5 separate regions of the Homo sapiens genome follow, and regions 2, 3, 4 and 5 are each linked to region 1. Evidence: promoter capture Hi-C in 16 types of primary human blood cells and fetal thymus (Javierre and others, 2016). All regions are on one chromosome and are shown on one strand. Each heading gives the region's core, a stretch centred on a gene start or on the middle of the fragment in contact. The rest is flanking DNA. Distances are from core to core; before and after follow the strand shown. Region 1 holds the start of CHRM3 (cholinergic receptor muscarinic 3). Region 2 has its middle 68 kb from the start of CHRM3-AS1. Region 3 overlaps LOC105373224 (a long non-coding RNA gene). Region 4 overlaps LOC105373224 (a long non-coding RNA gene). Region 5 overlaps CHRM3 (cholinergic receptor muscarinic 3).

Region 1 (2,774 bases), core at 196-2,695:
TCTGCTGCTGGAGTCAACTGTCCGCCCGCCCCCGCCGTTTAAAAACACGCAAAAATTAACCTCGCTATTAGGAGGCTATGCTGAGGAAGTGTTCCAAAGAGGAGAACCGGTGCAGTCCAGCGGCCGCTGCCTCGCGAGTGCAGACTCTCCCCGGGTCAGTAAAGATGCGCACTAGGCTAGGTACCTTCGCCCAAGTGTTACTCGAAGTGCCAAATTTGCCTTCTCGCCCCCTGAAATGCAATCCGAACTTGCGGCCCCACTGCGAGGTTGGCGGGTGCCAGCTTTAGCCTTCTTAGAAATGACAGGAAACCAAATGGGGAGATGGGAGACAAACGCTCAACACACGAGTGCGCTCACAAACACACCCGGAGCCCAGTAGCTCCTCATGCTCGGGCACTTTGGAGCCTCAGATCCGGCAGTGGCGAAGAGAGAATCGAAGCGAGGGAGAGCGGGGTGGGACGTCCCCGACTCTCTCCCGGCCACCGCTCGCATGATTCCCGTCCCTTTCGGGGCACTTGAGTGCCAGCGGGCGTTCCCCACCCTCAGTCCCAGAACTCCAACTCCGCACCAGATCGCGCTGTCGGAATTCAAGTGCCCCCATCTTCCCCAAATCAACAGCCTCTCTCGTCCCTACCCAGCCCCTTCTTTGGACTCCAAACACAAGACCTCTCCTACCCGCGCCGAAAACTTTTTCCTCCTTTCGCAACGAGATAAGGCAAGAAACCAGGTCAGCCGCTACCGCCACCCGCTCTGCCCAGCGCCTGGGTGGCGGGCGCCGTCCCTACCTGGCAGCTGCGCTCCAGGTGGCTGTCCCACGCCGGTCTCCGCGCCTGCCCGGTGCGCGGGTGGCGTCCGCTCCACCTTCCCTTCGTCTCCTCCGGCTCCGCGTTCAGGGAGCGACTGTCCTTAAGATCGTGCCCCCCTGCCCGGAGCCGCCCTTCAGTTCATCGCCCGTCTTCCCAGAAGCGCTGCTGCGGCCCCGGCGGACTGATGAGGAGCCTGGAGATCCGCGATGGCACCGATGGCCCCGCGGTGTGCGCTCCGGGGTCTGAGAGCGCTCCGCCCGCGGGCAGCTGCGGCCGCGCGTCACATGCCGCCTCCGGGCAGCGGCCGCGGCACCTGCCCAAGCGGCAGCGCTCCCGGCTCGGCAGTGCCGCCCCCGCGCCCTGTGCTCCCCTGCACGCTCCGGCCCTTTCTGTTCACGCCCTTTTCCCTCTGTCTCCCGCCTCACTTTTTCTCTTCTTTCCGTCTCCTTCTTTATCGTGTATTCCCTTTCTCCAAAAGCAGAGAGAAGGCGCTCCAAGGGGGAGGAGAGGTCTTTTCCTCCCCACGAACTCTTCCTCTGCCTGGTGGTGGCGGTCGTGGCTACTGCTGGCCGCTCCTCCTCTCCTTCCTCCTCGCGTTCCTCCTGCTCCTCCTCCTCCCCGGACTGAGAGAGCTGGTGTAATGCACAGGCTGCGTGCTTGAGACCAAAACCTGCCCGGCTTCTGAGCATGCCCAGTTGCCCTGCCGGCGCCTAGCTCCATTCCCGCGTGCCCGCTGGGCTCCGCGTTCTCCGCCTGGCAGGGGGCGAGGAGATCCCAGGGTACTCCTGGGGTGGGTTGGCTGAAAGCGGAACACCAAGCAGGAGAGAGGGGGGCCTCACCCACCCAGCATGGCCTCACCTGTTCCCAAATTGTGCCTCCCGCGGCGCTTCAAAGATAGATTTTGCCGGTCTGTTAGTTTTGTTGTGTTCGCTTTTAAATTGGTTTCCCTGGACTGCTTAGAAGGACTGGAAGGAATTCGATTCCTTGGGCACAACTTATCGATGAGTGAACTTCAGCTCAGTTACAATATACGACTCCATGGCAAACCTTTCTCTAAGGAACAGTCTGATGCATCTACTTTTTGACATTTAGTGAGTCTGTTTCTGCAGAGCAGTGTAATAGAGGACGACTTGACTTTTCCCTCCCTGGACAGTTACACCTTGGGAGAAAATAAGACAAGCATCCATGAAGAAGACACTGACGTGCACGCGCGCGCGCGCGCGCGTACACACACACACACACACACACACACACACACACACACACACACTTTTTTAAATCAGAAAATAAAATGAAAGATATAACATTGCTAGCCAGTCTTTTAAAGCTCAAGAGGAATGAAAATCTAAGAAAGAAAGAAAGAAAGAAAGAAAGAAAGAAAGAAAGAAAGAGAGAGAGACAGAAAAGGTTATTATGTACTACTGCCAGCTAACTATGTAAGGAAAAAGTGGAGAGATACCAAATTTGAAAAGATACCAATGAGGCTGTCCCACGGCACTCTCGAGGTTTTGTTTAAAAAGCACATAAGGAAAGATAACAGAGGAATCTCACAAGAAAGGACAAGCATAACAATGATAACTGAAAAAGAAGAAAAGAAAGAAAAAGGAAGGAAGGAGGAAGATAAAAAGAAGAAAAAAGCAAGAAATTGAAGCATAGTATGAAATGAAATATTTAACAATATTAAAGGCAGCAAATGATTTTAATTCTATTTGGAACAAGAAGATAAATAGGAAAAGATAGAGCTCTTTGAAAAATTAAGTAATTCTAAGAGATTAGAGAAACACCAGTATATGAATTCCTTTCTGAACCTATATTCTTCTCTAGGTAGAACAATCTTTAGGAGAGAAGAGACTAAACTTTGCGTAGAAAAGATTGAGATCATGCTGGGAAAATAGCTAGTGAGAAAGCATGTGGCTACTTAAATTAATTAAAATATCTAGGCTTAGGTAAATTGCATCCAGGATACTA
Region 2 (2,774 bases), core at 141-2,640, 580 kb before region 1:
GTCAGTACCTCATTACTTTTTAAATGCTGAATAATATTTCATTTATAGATATACTACGTTTGTTTATTTGTTCATCGGTAGGTAGATATTTGGATTGATTCTGGGGTTTTTGGCTATCATGAATAATACCTCTTTGAACATCTATGTAAAAGTTTTGACATATACGTTAGCTTTTATTTCTTTTGGGTATTTCTAGGGGTAGAATTGCCAGCATCAGCCCACCCAGATGCATCCCATAAGGATTCCATATTTTATGCCTTTGCCAATCTTGAAGTCACGCTTTCTCGCGCGAAAAGAAAAGGTGACACTTTCTCTCCTCCTTTACACTTTCACACTCTTCCTATAAAATTAAAAGCCAAGTTAAAACTTAAATATGTCTATTTTTTAAGTCATGGCAATCAGCAAGTGATCCCATGGAATTTCAACTTTTTAAGTTAAATGAAAAGGTAATCTTTTTAATTGAAAGCAAAGCCAAATGGTTGCTGAATATCTATCCTGTGGTGGAGTTATTGAGGACATGTCAGTGATAGGTCTCCTCAGGCTGCCCACAGTTCTGTCTGGCAATCAGAGCTGGCCTTCACTATTTCTTTCCCAGCTATCTTATTCTTAATGTCTGAAGGGTTTCCAGAGCTACTTTGATCTATTTTTTGGACATACATTTTTTGGACAAAAAGATTTCACATTTAAGCTTTTTATAAAGAAATTTAATAATATGATTTCCTATCTAGTGAGCAAATAAATAATGTTATGTTGATTTGTACTTATTTGGGCCATTTAAAAATTGTGATAAAAGATAATAACATTAAATTTACCATATTAACTATTTGAAGTATACAACTCAGTGATAGTAAGTCTATTCACATTATTCATTTCCAGAAATTTGTTATTGTACCAAACCAAAACTTTGTGTCCATTAAACAATAACTCCGCAATCCTCCTAACTCTCATCCCATAGGAATCTCTATCAACTCTCTGTTTCTGACGGTGCCTATTCTAGGTTCCTCATACATGTGGAATCGTACAATATTTGTACATTTCTGCCTGGCTGATTACATTTAGCATAATGTTGTCAAAGTTCATCCATATAGTAGATCTCATTTCTTTTAAAGGATGAGTGGTATCCCATTGTATGTGTTGATGTTTACTTGTAGAATAAGTAATTTATATATTTTTTCCATGAACAACTAACTGAAAGGCAAAGCAAACTACTGATAAAAGAGACTAGAACTGGCTACAAATGGAATCCTGGCAACGTTATTTAACTATTCCCTAATTTAACCAATTTTCTAAGTAAAACAATGAAAAGATGAGTAGGAGTTGCTGCTTTTTGGTGTCTCACACGCTAATCATATAGACAATATGTCCACAGAGAGCACAGTAAAACAATTAGAACAAATTCCTAATTGCCTGTTAAGAAATGCTGGAATATTCAACATGAATTCTATCCTATGACCTGGGTGTACATAGAAACTTTGTTTATTCAGGTTTGCCTCTTGTTTAACTCAGCATATTATGATGAATTATTATTGTTATTATATTTTAAAGTAAGATGGAGTCTTGCTCTGTCACCCAGGCTGGAGTGCAGTGGCACGATCTTGGCTCACTGCAACTTCTGCCTCCCAGGTTCAAGCAATTCTCCCACCTCAGCCTCCTGAGTAGCTAGGATTACAGCTGCCCACCACCATGCATGGCTAATTTTTGTATTTTTAGTAGCGACGGGGTTTCGCTATGTTGGCCAGGCTGGTCTTGAACTCCTGACCTCAGGTGATCCGCCTGCCTCGGCCTCCTAAAGTGCTGGGATTATAGGCATGAGCCATCACACCTTGCCCTGATGAATTATTTTAATGGCCCTAGAAAGCCCTGCATTTAGTTAATTTTCCATCTTGCTTTATTGATCTGAATAGAGCATGCAATTTTTGTGTGTGTTGGGCAGTTTGTGTTCTGATGCTCATGGGATGCCACAGAAGTCGAGGACCAAGGATATTTTCTTGTAAAAACCAACATTTGCCCACTTTAGAAAACCAGAGAAACAAAAAAACGGAGATTTACTTTCCTCCAGGGAGATGCTGTTTTGTCTCCTGAAGAAGCTTGGTAAGCCTCAGTGTAGGATGTAGGTGATGGTTTCACATGAGGCATGTTTTAAAAATCCTCTCTGATACTCTTTTTTATGTCTGGTGGCCAATCTCAATCAAAGGAAGGCTTTCCCCTGCTTTGTGATGAGTGACTCTTGGCATGAAGCAAGTTAGGTTCCTCCACTCAGCGATGTGGTTTCAGTCTCAGACTTTCAATGGAAACAAAAAGGAAGGAAGGAAGGAAGAAGGGAAGGAAAGTTTAGATATATAAAGACCAATAATCAGATTGTGAATTTTGACTCACCATATTTATTCATTTAATAAAAAATTATTGAGTACCTACGATGACAATGCAATCAGCAGAGTGGACACTAGAAATACAAAGGTGAACCAGATAAATCTCTGGCCCCATGGAGCCAGACAGTCAGGAGCAGAGCTGGTCAGTGACAGAGCAGTTGTCCTGCTGGGACCTTAGTGCTGTGCTAGGGAAGGTTCCTGGTGCTCTAGGATGAGGTAGGGATAGAAGGTCAGAGAAGACCTAGACATCAACTAACTGCATTACATTATTTCCTTTAAGTGTTCAAGACTTCAGCAATTCACAGGTTCAAATTCAATCATGGATCAGGAGTTGTAATAAAGATTTCTCATGTCATTCTGGCACCTGGCAACTCATTGTTTATTCAATCAGAGATTATCAGAATA
Region 3 (2,774 bases), core at 131-2,630, 560 kb before region 1:
AGCAAATAAATATTTATTTAGACATTCTGTAAGATGATAAAACGTGTTTTCAATGCTAGCTTGTGGAAATGTTGAGGTGGGGCACTCATTGTCCTAAGCAGTCCTGCACTGCCCTCTGGTGGCCTTTCATTTATGTCTTATCATTGACTTCCAAGGACCTTCTGCCTTTCACAAGGCAGATATTGACATTTTTGCATTTGACTTTGTTTCACTTAGATAACATATTAAATTTGGAGTTTAAAAATGTTTTATATTCTTTAGAAATAAAAATAAAAGTAGAAATGGCTTCAATAAATTAAACTCTAGCTTCGTAATACACTGTTACATATAATCGTATGTAACATGTATTCATACACATGAGCGGTGTGAATCATAATACACCGTTACATATAATTATTCTAGCCTTCCAGAATTCCTCATTATGACTCCATAATACGTTTTGCAATATGAATGGTTTATTTATATTTTATGTTGATCAGTATAAAGTGCTCAAATTCCCAGGTGTGTTAGTATTTAAATTTCTTTAAGGGTTTTTGAAGTATAATCAATTTCACAAAGAACCAATCAATTTAAAATGTACAATTCCATGAGTCTTGAAATATATTCCACAAAACCATCACTGCCATTAAAGAAGTGTACATGTATCCATTACCTCTAAAAGATTGTTCTGATTTCTGTTTAAAAATCCATTGTTAGCTTGATGTACAGATAACTTCCGTTTGTCCCCTCAGATTCACTCTTCACTTAGGGTGGAGGTCATCTGTGCAATGAAGGAACTGCTTGATCTTGCTTCACTGTACAGTTGGGAACCCGTAAGAAAAGACAGATCTAAAGATAGATGTTAAAATAGCCAGGATAGAGTGTTGCCAGGACTGCCCTGGAGGAGACGACTATACGCTGAAAGCTTATGGGACCTTGCAGGTCCATGCTGGCAAAAGCCTGGGCAGCAGGAGTGGGAGTCGGTCCAAGGCGGTGGACCAAGGAGCAAAATAAAGGTCTTGATTGGACTGAATTCATTGACATGAGAGTGCTCTCTATGGATTTGGGTTCCAAGTGTTGGGTTGACCACCTGCTAGTGGTGTTGATATTCTGGCCTTATCATGGCCTCCAGATAATGAGGTCAGAATGCTAAAATGTCCTTGCCACACTGCCGAGGGAGGGAGGAAGGAGTTGGAATGCATAAGGACAGGCATGGTGGGATGGAGCTATGATGTGCAGTCTGCTCAGCCATCCCTAATCTTGCCTGCTGGGAGAAGCAGAGCTCACACTTTTCATCACAGCATTGGCAAGGGAGGCGCCAGCGTCTTTGAAGAGCCCTGTGCATGGCTGTCCTTTACACAGTATGCCACACAGTATGCCACGGGGGCAGGATGGGAATTAGAGAGTGTGACCCACAAGGATACGTGGTGTGGGGTAATTGATCAGGTGTCCTTACAAATGAAACTGATGGATGGCCTACCAAGAAAACAATTCTAGATATGATTGTTGCTACAGTGAGGATTCACTGTCTCTAAACTAGTTATGAAACATAAGCCAGCAATGGCCCGACTCTGAGCTCCTATGCTGAGGAAGAGATTGGAGCCCTTCAAGGAATGGCCCTGCAATGGAGTCTCAGATATGTGCCATGTATCTTTTCCATCAGCTTCCCCAAATGGCCCCAAAGTCAAAGGCAATTACTGCTGTGACCACACTCTGGAAGAAGGGAAACATCTACATGCGTTTTCTGGAGAATTTTGTCTATATGTTCTGAGCATATTTTGAATCCCCAACATCAGAAATGCTGTGTGGCCCATCAGTTGAAGCAGGGGCTTTGGAGGTCTGGGGACAGGAGCTGCCTTGGCCGCAGGTTAAGCTTGTCCAGTGGAACCATGGCCTCCTCCTGTGGTTACTCTCCAGTTCCAGAATGGATAATGGGAATAGGTAGATTTAGCAACTGGTAGAATCTCCACATTTTTTTTTCTGATCCCAAAAATTTTGCTTATTAAGAAAGGAAGGCCCAAGTAGAGGTCCCTAGAACTACACCTTCCTGAGAGGAAACTGAACGCAGCACATCATCCATGGAGGAGACCGAGGGGTGAGCAGTGTCATCAACCCCTTGAGAAATGCAAGTTGGTAATGCCCACTGTTCCTTATTTTCCTTGCCTCTCTGGCTACTGGAAAAGCCAAGTGGTGACTGGGCATGGTGCCTCATGCCTGTAATCACGGCACTTTGGGAGGCTGAGGCAGGCGGATCTCGAGGTCAAGAGTTCAAGAACACCCTGGCCAACATGGTGAAACCCCATCTCTACTAAAAATACAAAAATTAGCCAGGCATGGTGGCGGGCACCTGTAATCCCAGCTACTCGGGAGGTTGAGGCAGGAGAATCGCTTGAATCTGGGAGGCAGAGGTTGCAGTGAGCCGAGGTCGCGCCACTGCACTCCAGCCTGGGCAAGAAAGCAAGACTCCATCTCGGAAAAAAAAAAGCCAAGTGGGTCATGGAGATGGACAGTGAATTTCCACAGACGTAATCAGATGGAGACGGGAACGGGAGCTGTGACTGTTTGTAGGATACCTCGACAGGAGCGATACTTCAGTTACAGTGTCTCGCAGAGGAGCAGGCCCGGGCAGGCTGCTGTTGGGGGAGGGACTGAGAATGGCATGAGACTCCCTGCCTGTTTAAAGGGCAAATTCCTTTAAAGGAAAACAAAAACCAAAAAAGACTATACTACATCAATGGCTAGTGTTTTTTTAAATATGTATATACTGATAGAATTGACCCTCAAAAAGTTCAATC
Region 4 (2,774 bases), core at 70-2,569, 540 kb before region 1:
TGTTATGTACGTTTATATTTGTGAAAAATATCCCTAAAGGAATTGCTAGTGAAAGCTCAGCAGGCCTCACTTAGGGTGGCCGTCCACTTTTCCACCTTGCCCAGAGACCACCTGCTGAACTCCTGGGCACAGGTCATTCCTTTCCACTTTGATCCCTGGATCAAAGGTGCCGGGGCCCGCAGAGGCAAGGTTGAATCTTTCCACGTCAGATCTGGGCACTGAGCAGAGTGACTAGCATCTGTGTTTTTGTCGTGTGAGTCCTCTCAGCCAGAATGGGAAATGTTGGTTAGGTTCCTCCAGGCAGCCCCATTAGGCTGCATCTTGAGAATTGGGAAAACAAGAGGTGTCCTCTTTAGATCAGTACAATGAGTAATTTATCCACTAAGGGCAGAAAAACTGCAAAAACTCTGGGAAAGTTAAAAGGCACGCCATGTTTTCTAGGACTCCAGCTGGTTACATACATGGCCTGCTATTGTGCACATTTTAAACTGATGGGCAAATGACAGTGAGGAAAATCCAGAACTCAAAAGGTTGATTTGCAGCTATAGGATTAAAAACTCTTTGTGAATCTTTCTCTTTATTTTCTTTTCTGCCTACTTCTAATCTGCTATTATTAAGCTACTGGTTTTGAGATAAAACTCTCTGTTCGTGGTACTACTAACTCAAAGTTACTTGGGGATTTTGTTTTTCTTATACAGTTCTGCCAGTACTAGCTGAAATGTAAACATTAAAACTCATTTAAAACTGGGAGTGGAGGGGAAAGGATAAAAATGTTTTTTTCCCGTAAAAACTTCTTTGGTTCACAGCCTTCATTGGACTACCTACCAAGGCACACAAAGTTTAGCCATGTGGACAGGCTCCCAATTTTGTCCAAAATAATTCAGATTCAGCCATCTTTTATAAACTGGTGAGTTTGTATTACCATCTCATGGCTAGAATTCCGAAGTAAAAGCTGTAAAATCCTTGTTTATATGTGTGTGTGTTTAGATAAATTTACTTATATAAACATATATTGTGTTATATATTAAGTCTACACGATACCAACTTGGCTTATAAATAATAAAACACTCATAAATTAAGTACATAACTCCAAATATCTTTCAAGTTAATGTGATTTAAATAAATCTTTAATTTAAAAACTGGCTTTAAAATTATAAATAAAATTAAAATTAAATATCTTCAAAATTATCAGCATACATTTGTGTCTGGGTTTATTGGCTAAATGGTTTTATATTTGTCTTTGCTAAATGTATTATGGTGTCAGGGTTTGGCATGAAGCATACAAAGCTATAAACCCAGCCAAAAACAAAATAATCTTTATTTGTATATATTTTTGATAAATAGGGCCAATTTGATGTTGTTGGTTTAATGAAAACAGCTAAACCTTCTGAGTTATTGGCAAAAGTATCCATATGTTTACTCTAAGTTTCTACTTAGGTAAACACCTGATATTCAGAGGCTATAAAAATGGTTAACAGAGGAATAATTTTAAATGATGACTATCTTTGTCTAATATCTCAGTTTTCATAAGTAATCTAGTTAAACTGTTAAAAAAAATAAATTAATATAAATGAGACAAATGCTTATGGGTAAACTTTTGTATAATTGAAATCTTAAAATTATCTTAAATAACCATTATTTCCAACTAAGAAAGGGTTATGATATTAAAAAAAAATGTTTCTAAAAATTGTGGAGTGGTTCTCATCCATAAAGTATGAATGTCTGGCAGACAATTCAAAATTTCTTGCTTCCTTGGTTTTCACTAAAATTTAAGGTTACTAAGAATAAAGATTCTAGTTAATATGTAATTCTGTATATAAAGTGTACCAAAAATATGTTCTTATTAAAAAAAGAATAATTTTGTCTAATTCAGAAATTATCTAAAGGTTGATTTAAATTATAGACCTGGAAAGTTATTCACAAAACAAGGTTAAAGAAAACCCAGGAAGTAGGAGAGAGAAATATTTTAAAGGTTATGACTATAAAAATAGTTTTAATAAATGAAAAAATTTAGTATGGTAAATTTTTGTCCTAAAATAAAATTATTAGTTATTTAAAAAAGAACTTGGTTTAGGACAAAGCAAAAATTTAAGAATGTCATTGATGGTCTATGAAAGTAATAATAAGGTTCATAAAAGACAATTTATTAGAAAAAAGTTTATGTCTGGGTGCAGTGGCTCATGCCCGCAATCCCAGCACTTTGGGAGGCCAAGGCAGGTGGATGGCTTGAGCTCAGGAGTTCCAGACCAGCCTGGGCAACACGGCAAAAACCCATCTCTACAAAAAGTGGAAAAATTAGTCAGGTTTGCTGGTGCACGTGCCTACAGTCCCAGCTACTCAGGAAACTGAGGTGGGAAGATCACTTGAGCCTGGGAGGTCAAGGCTGCAGTGGGCCTTGTTCAGGCCACTGCATTCCATCCTGGGCAACAAAGTCAGACCCTGTCTTAGTTAGTTACAATTTTATAAAATAATTTATAATAATTTTTCTAAAATTTAGCTCCCTATATTTAAATAAGATTTTCTTAAGATATTAATTCGCTCTTAAATTATAAGAGGTTCTCATTTTTAATTTTATAACCTTTTTTTTTTAAAAAGTCCCTCAAATTTATATCTCAGAAGTTCCACTTCTGCTGTGCCTTGGTGCTACCAGCTTTTTCACCCTTTGAGAAAGCCTGAGATAAGAACTCTTTCAACTTTTTTGTCAGCACCTATAACCTTGGCCTCCATTTCTAACTTTACTGTGATAGCCTGACACTGAAATGTTTATCTTAAAG
Region 5 (2,774 bases), core at 181-2,680, 530 kb before region 1:
CAGAAAAGGAAAATGGAATTCTCCAGTTCTAAAGAACATTGGGTTACCATTCTAGAAACCTTTCTCAGGTCTGCAATGTTGACTCACACATTAATGCTGGGAGAGGCTGAAGATTTAGAGTCATCAGAACAGGAGAAGAGAGTGTAACTTAAGCGTGTAGAAAGGAAGCAGTAAACTTGTCCTTGAACCTATTAAGGGCTAGAGTTGATACTGTCTAAATAAGTTTGTTGCACGTGGTATTGGAGCAAAATATTCTTTCAGAGGAGGTGCTAGAAGTAGGGTTCTTTAGGTTAAAAAAAAATAACTTTGGAGTGTTGTAATCTATACAGTTTCAGTTCTGTTATGAGAAATGCTATTGCAAAACCAAAGCAAACACCTGCTACCTAGAAACTCTATTTTGTGAGTTTGCCCGACCTCAGGTGCTGGGTTGGAGTGGTATTTGAAACCATACTACTCCGGGTTTGCCAACAAATTTCAAAGCTTCCTTGGTTACCTTCCAAATTTCAAGATTTTGTGGTGTTGAAATAGAGTAAGTAAATAACTTTACAGAATATAAAATCTGAAATTTTCAAACATTCACCCAATATACCATTTTACTTTCGTCATGGTAGCTGCTGACCTCAGTTTTGACCGATTTGGCATCAGAAGGCAAATTAGAGAAGCTTCGGTGTTGTTGCTTAGTTTGAGCAATGAGGATAAAACCCAGAAAGTTTAGGTTAAGTGACAAGCATTCCTAAGGACATGTAACTAAGCAGTGACCAAACTGGTCCAGAAACTTCAGGTTCCTCATCCTAAATTCATTGCTTCTTTGACTATACTGCACTATTTTCACTCGTCCTCTGAAGCTGCCAGGGGAAGATTGTGCAATTTCCTGGAATATGTCCCCATCCTTGAATCATCTCTACTCAGATAGGTACAGGACACCCTGACTGATCCCTGGAATCCTTCTCTGTGCCACTCTGGTATTAGACTTCTCCGCTGTGACAGAGCCTTGGCATCCTTCTTTCCTCCCTGAGTCAGAGCTGAAACAGCCAACTGTGCATCAGAGCTCTGTGCTCCAGCTTCTCTCTCGATACATGAAGGGGCTTCCAGCGCTCTGCAGAGCAATGAGCCCTGCACGAGGGCAACGTAGGAAGCCTGACAGAGAAAACTGATATGCCTTCTAGATCTTTAGCCACAGCAGGGTCTAACGCTTAGGCTTCTTGTTTGTTTTCATTCCGTCAGAGTCTACAACTATTGTACACTAAAGGGTAAAGAGAAATGAAAAATATGTAGAGAGTCAAGGCTGGGCTTAAGAGGCAAAGGGTGACTAGGAGAATAGGGAGGACTAGCATAGAGGCCACAGGGAGCTGATGGGCAAAGGAGAGCAGAGCCGAGGGATCTAGGGGACCAGAGAGAGCTCACTTCTCCTAACCATCTGGCAATGCCTGGAGAATGGAGATTGAGTGTGTGTGTGTGTGCTTGTGAGAGAGAGAGAAGGAAGAAGAGGGAGAAAGAGAGAGAGAGAGGCAGAGAGAGAGAGAGAGATTCTCCATGTGTAGTTTATTTTAGGTTTGATCATTTTCTTCTTTCAAGCAAAGTGGCTAATCTTGAAATGTCTGCAAACCTCATGCATATGGCATGAAATAATTCGATTCCCAATTTGGGATGAAGACATTTTGATCTTAGGTAAGTGCTGAATATCTCCTGTAATGACAAGCCCTTTGAGAAATGCACGTGTAACTAAGGTCCAATTATAAATACTCACTACATCTTCAATTATGCTTTTAAATTATTCATATTCAAAAGAACCTATTTTGCTTGTTTTCTTTCTCTGAAAGTGACCCAAGAAATGGACATACCTTTCTATAAAATCAGTAGATAGTATTTAAATGCAGCTTTCATCCATAAGAGGCTTAAAAACAATTCTATAATAAAACCAGTAAAACAAAAAAGGGAGACCTAGAGTCTTGGATTTGTTCCTTTTCTGCTATTATTAGCATCACAAAAGGACAAGGATAAGGAGATAATCATGTTTAAGGAGATTGGAAGTGACTCTCAAAGTTCTGTTAAATTTCAGGGTTTCTCCTTTTCTCAAATTTAATTCTATTTCTTTTTTTTTTTTAATAAAAGAAACAGCCCTTTTGGGAGGGAGGCAAGATAGGAGTTTCCAAAAGGATGGGAAGTGCTGAAGTACTGGGACACTTGAATAAGCTTTCACATATTTATTAGTGCCAGGCCAACTTGAGAAATAAAATATAGATGCAATTGCTTACTAGATGTTTCACAGGTGGATAATATGACATTCTGTAGTTTGCTGTGTACATATTAGAAAATCGTCTGTTTCTTTCTTGTTCTTTGGTTGAATGTGGGCCCAAAAAAATCATTCTTACAATTATGCTGATTGTTTTTTTTTTTCCCTGTGTAAAATGATTTCAGACACAATGGTGGAGCTTTGTTCAGTTCCCATCAGATTTAACTAAAGAGTGGTTTTAAACATTTACGTTGAAGTGACCGTTGACTTTTTATTACCTAGAAAGAGTTAGGTGCTTGGTGATGCCAACAGGATGACATGTTTCTTCTTCTTAGCCACAGGAAAGCTCCAATATACTCTATTCATTGCTCAAGTGGACCTTAAAGAATCACTTTGAAAGGACACCATGGCTGACGACTGAAGAGTCATATTTATCAACATTAAATAAACACTTGGTGTAGTATCCATAAATATTTCTGCATATAAACATAACACGAAATTAAATAGTTCAGATACACAGACACCACTGAGTACACTTCTA

Evidence for each region. The method cuts DNA at HindIII sites, captures the fragments that hold promoters and counts their contacts. A CHiCAGO score of 5 or more calls a contact.
Region 2: a fragment that was not itself captured here is called in contact with the fragment with the promoter of CHRM3 in region 1 in 2 of 17 cell types (activated CD4 T cells and non-activated CD4 T cells); the score reaches 6.9 in activated CD4 T cells.
Region 3: a fragment that was not itself captured here is called in contact with the fragment with the promoter of CHRM3 in region 1 in 3 of 17 cell types (total CD4 T cells, non-activated CD4 T cells and naive CD8 T cells); the score reaches 5.4 in total CD4 T cells.
Region 4: a fragment that was not itself captured here is called in contact with the fragment with the promoter of CHRM3 in region 1 in 5 of 17 cell types (total CD4 T cells, naive CD4 T cells, non-activated CD4 T cells and 2 more); the score reaches 9.5 in total CD4 T cells.
Region 5: a contact is called between a fragment that was not itself captured here and the fragment with the promoter of CHRM3 in region 1, in 13 of 17 cell types (activated CD4 T cells, naive CD4 T cells, total CD8 T cells and 10 more). The highest score is 21.8, in activated CD4 T cells.

What each region holds. Positions count from the first base shown.
Region 1 is chr1:239,385,239-239,388,012 of GRCh38, reverse strand. It overlaps CHRM3 (cholinergic receptor muscarinic 3), which reads right to left and starts at 1,445. Exons shown (of 7, transcript NM_001375978.1): 1 at 786-1,445. RefSeq lists enhancers at 1-222, 223-723. The HindIII fragment of the contact is 9,736 bases long and covers 1-2,774 here.
Region 2 is chr1:239,966,147-239,968,920 of GRCh38, reverse strand. No RefSeq gene overlaps it. Among named protein-coding and RNA genes, the nearest start is that of CHRM3-AS1, 68 kb to the right of the region's middle. The HindIII fragment of the contact is 1,399 bases long and covers 691-2,089 here.
Region 3 is chr1:239,949,055-239,951,828 of GRCh38, reverse strand. All of the region lies in intron 1 of LOC105373224 (a long non-coding RNA gene), which reads left to right. Among named protein-coding and RNA genes, the nearest start is that of CHRM3-AS1, 51 kb to the right of the region's middle. The HindIII fragment of the contact is 948 bases long and covers 907-1,854 here.
Region 4 is chr1:239,926,974-239,929,747 of GRCh38, reverse strand. All of the region lies in intron 1 of LOC105373224 (a long non-coding RNA gene), which reads left to right. Among named protein-coding and RNA genes, the nearest start is that of CHRM3-AS1, 28 kb to the right of the region's middle. The HindIII fragment of the contact is 5,383 bases long and covers 1-2,774 here.
Region 5 is chr1:239,910,878-239,913,651 of GRCh38, reverse strand. CHRM3 (cholinergic receptor muscarinic 3) reads right to left here. Exons shown (of 7, transcript NM_001375978.1): 7 at 1-2,774. Among named protein-coding and RNA genes, the nearest start is that of CHRM3-AS1, 12 kb to the right of the region's middle. The HindIII fragment of the contact is 1,531 bases long and covers 665-2,195 here.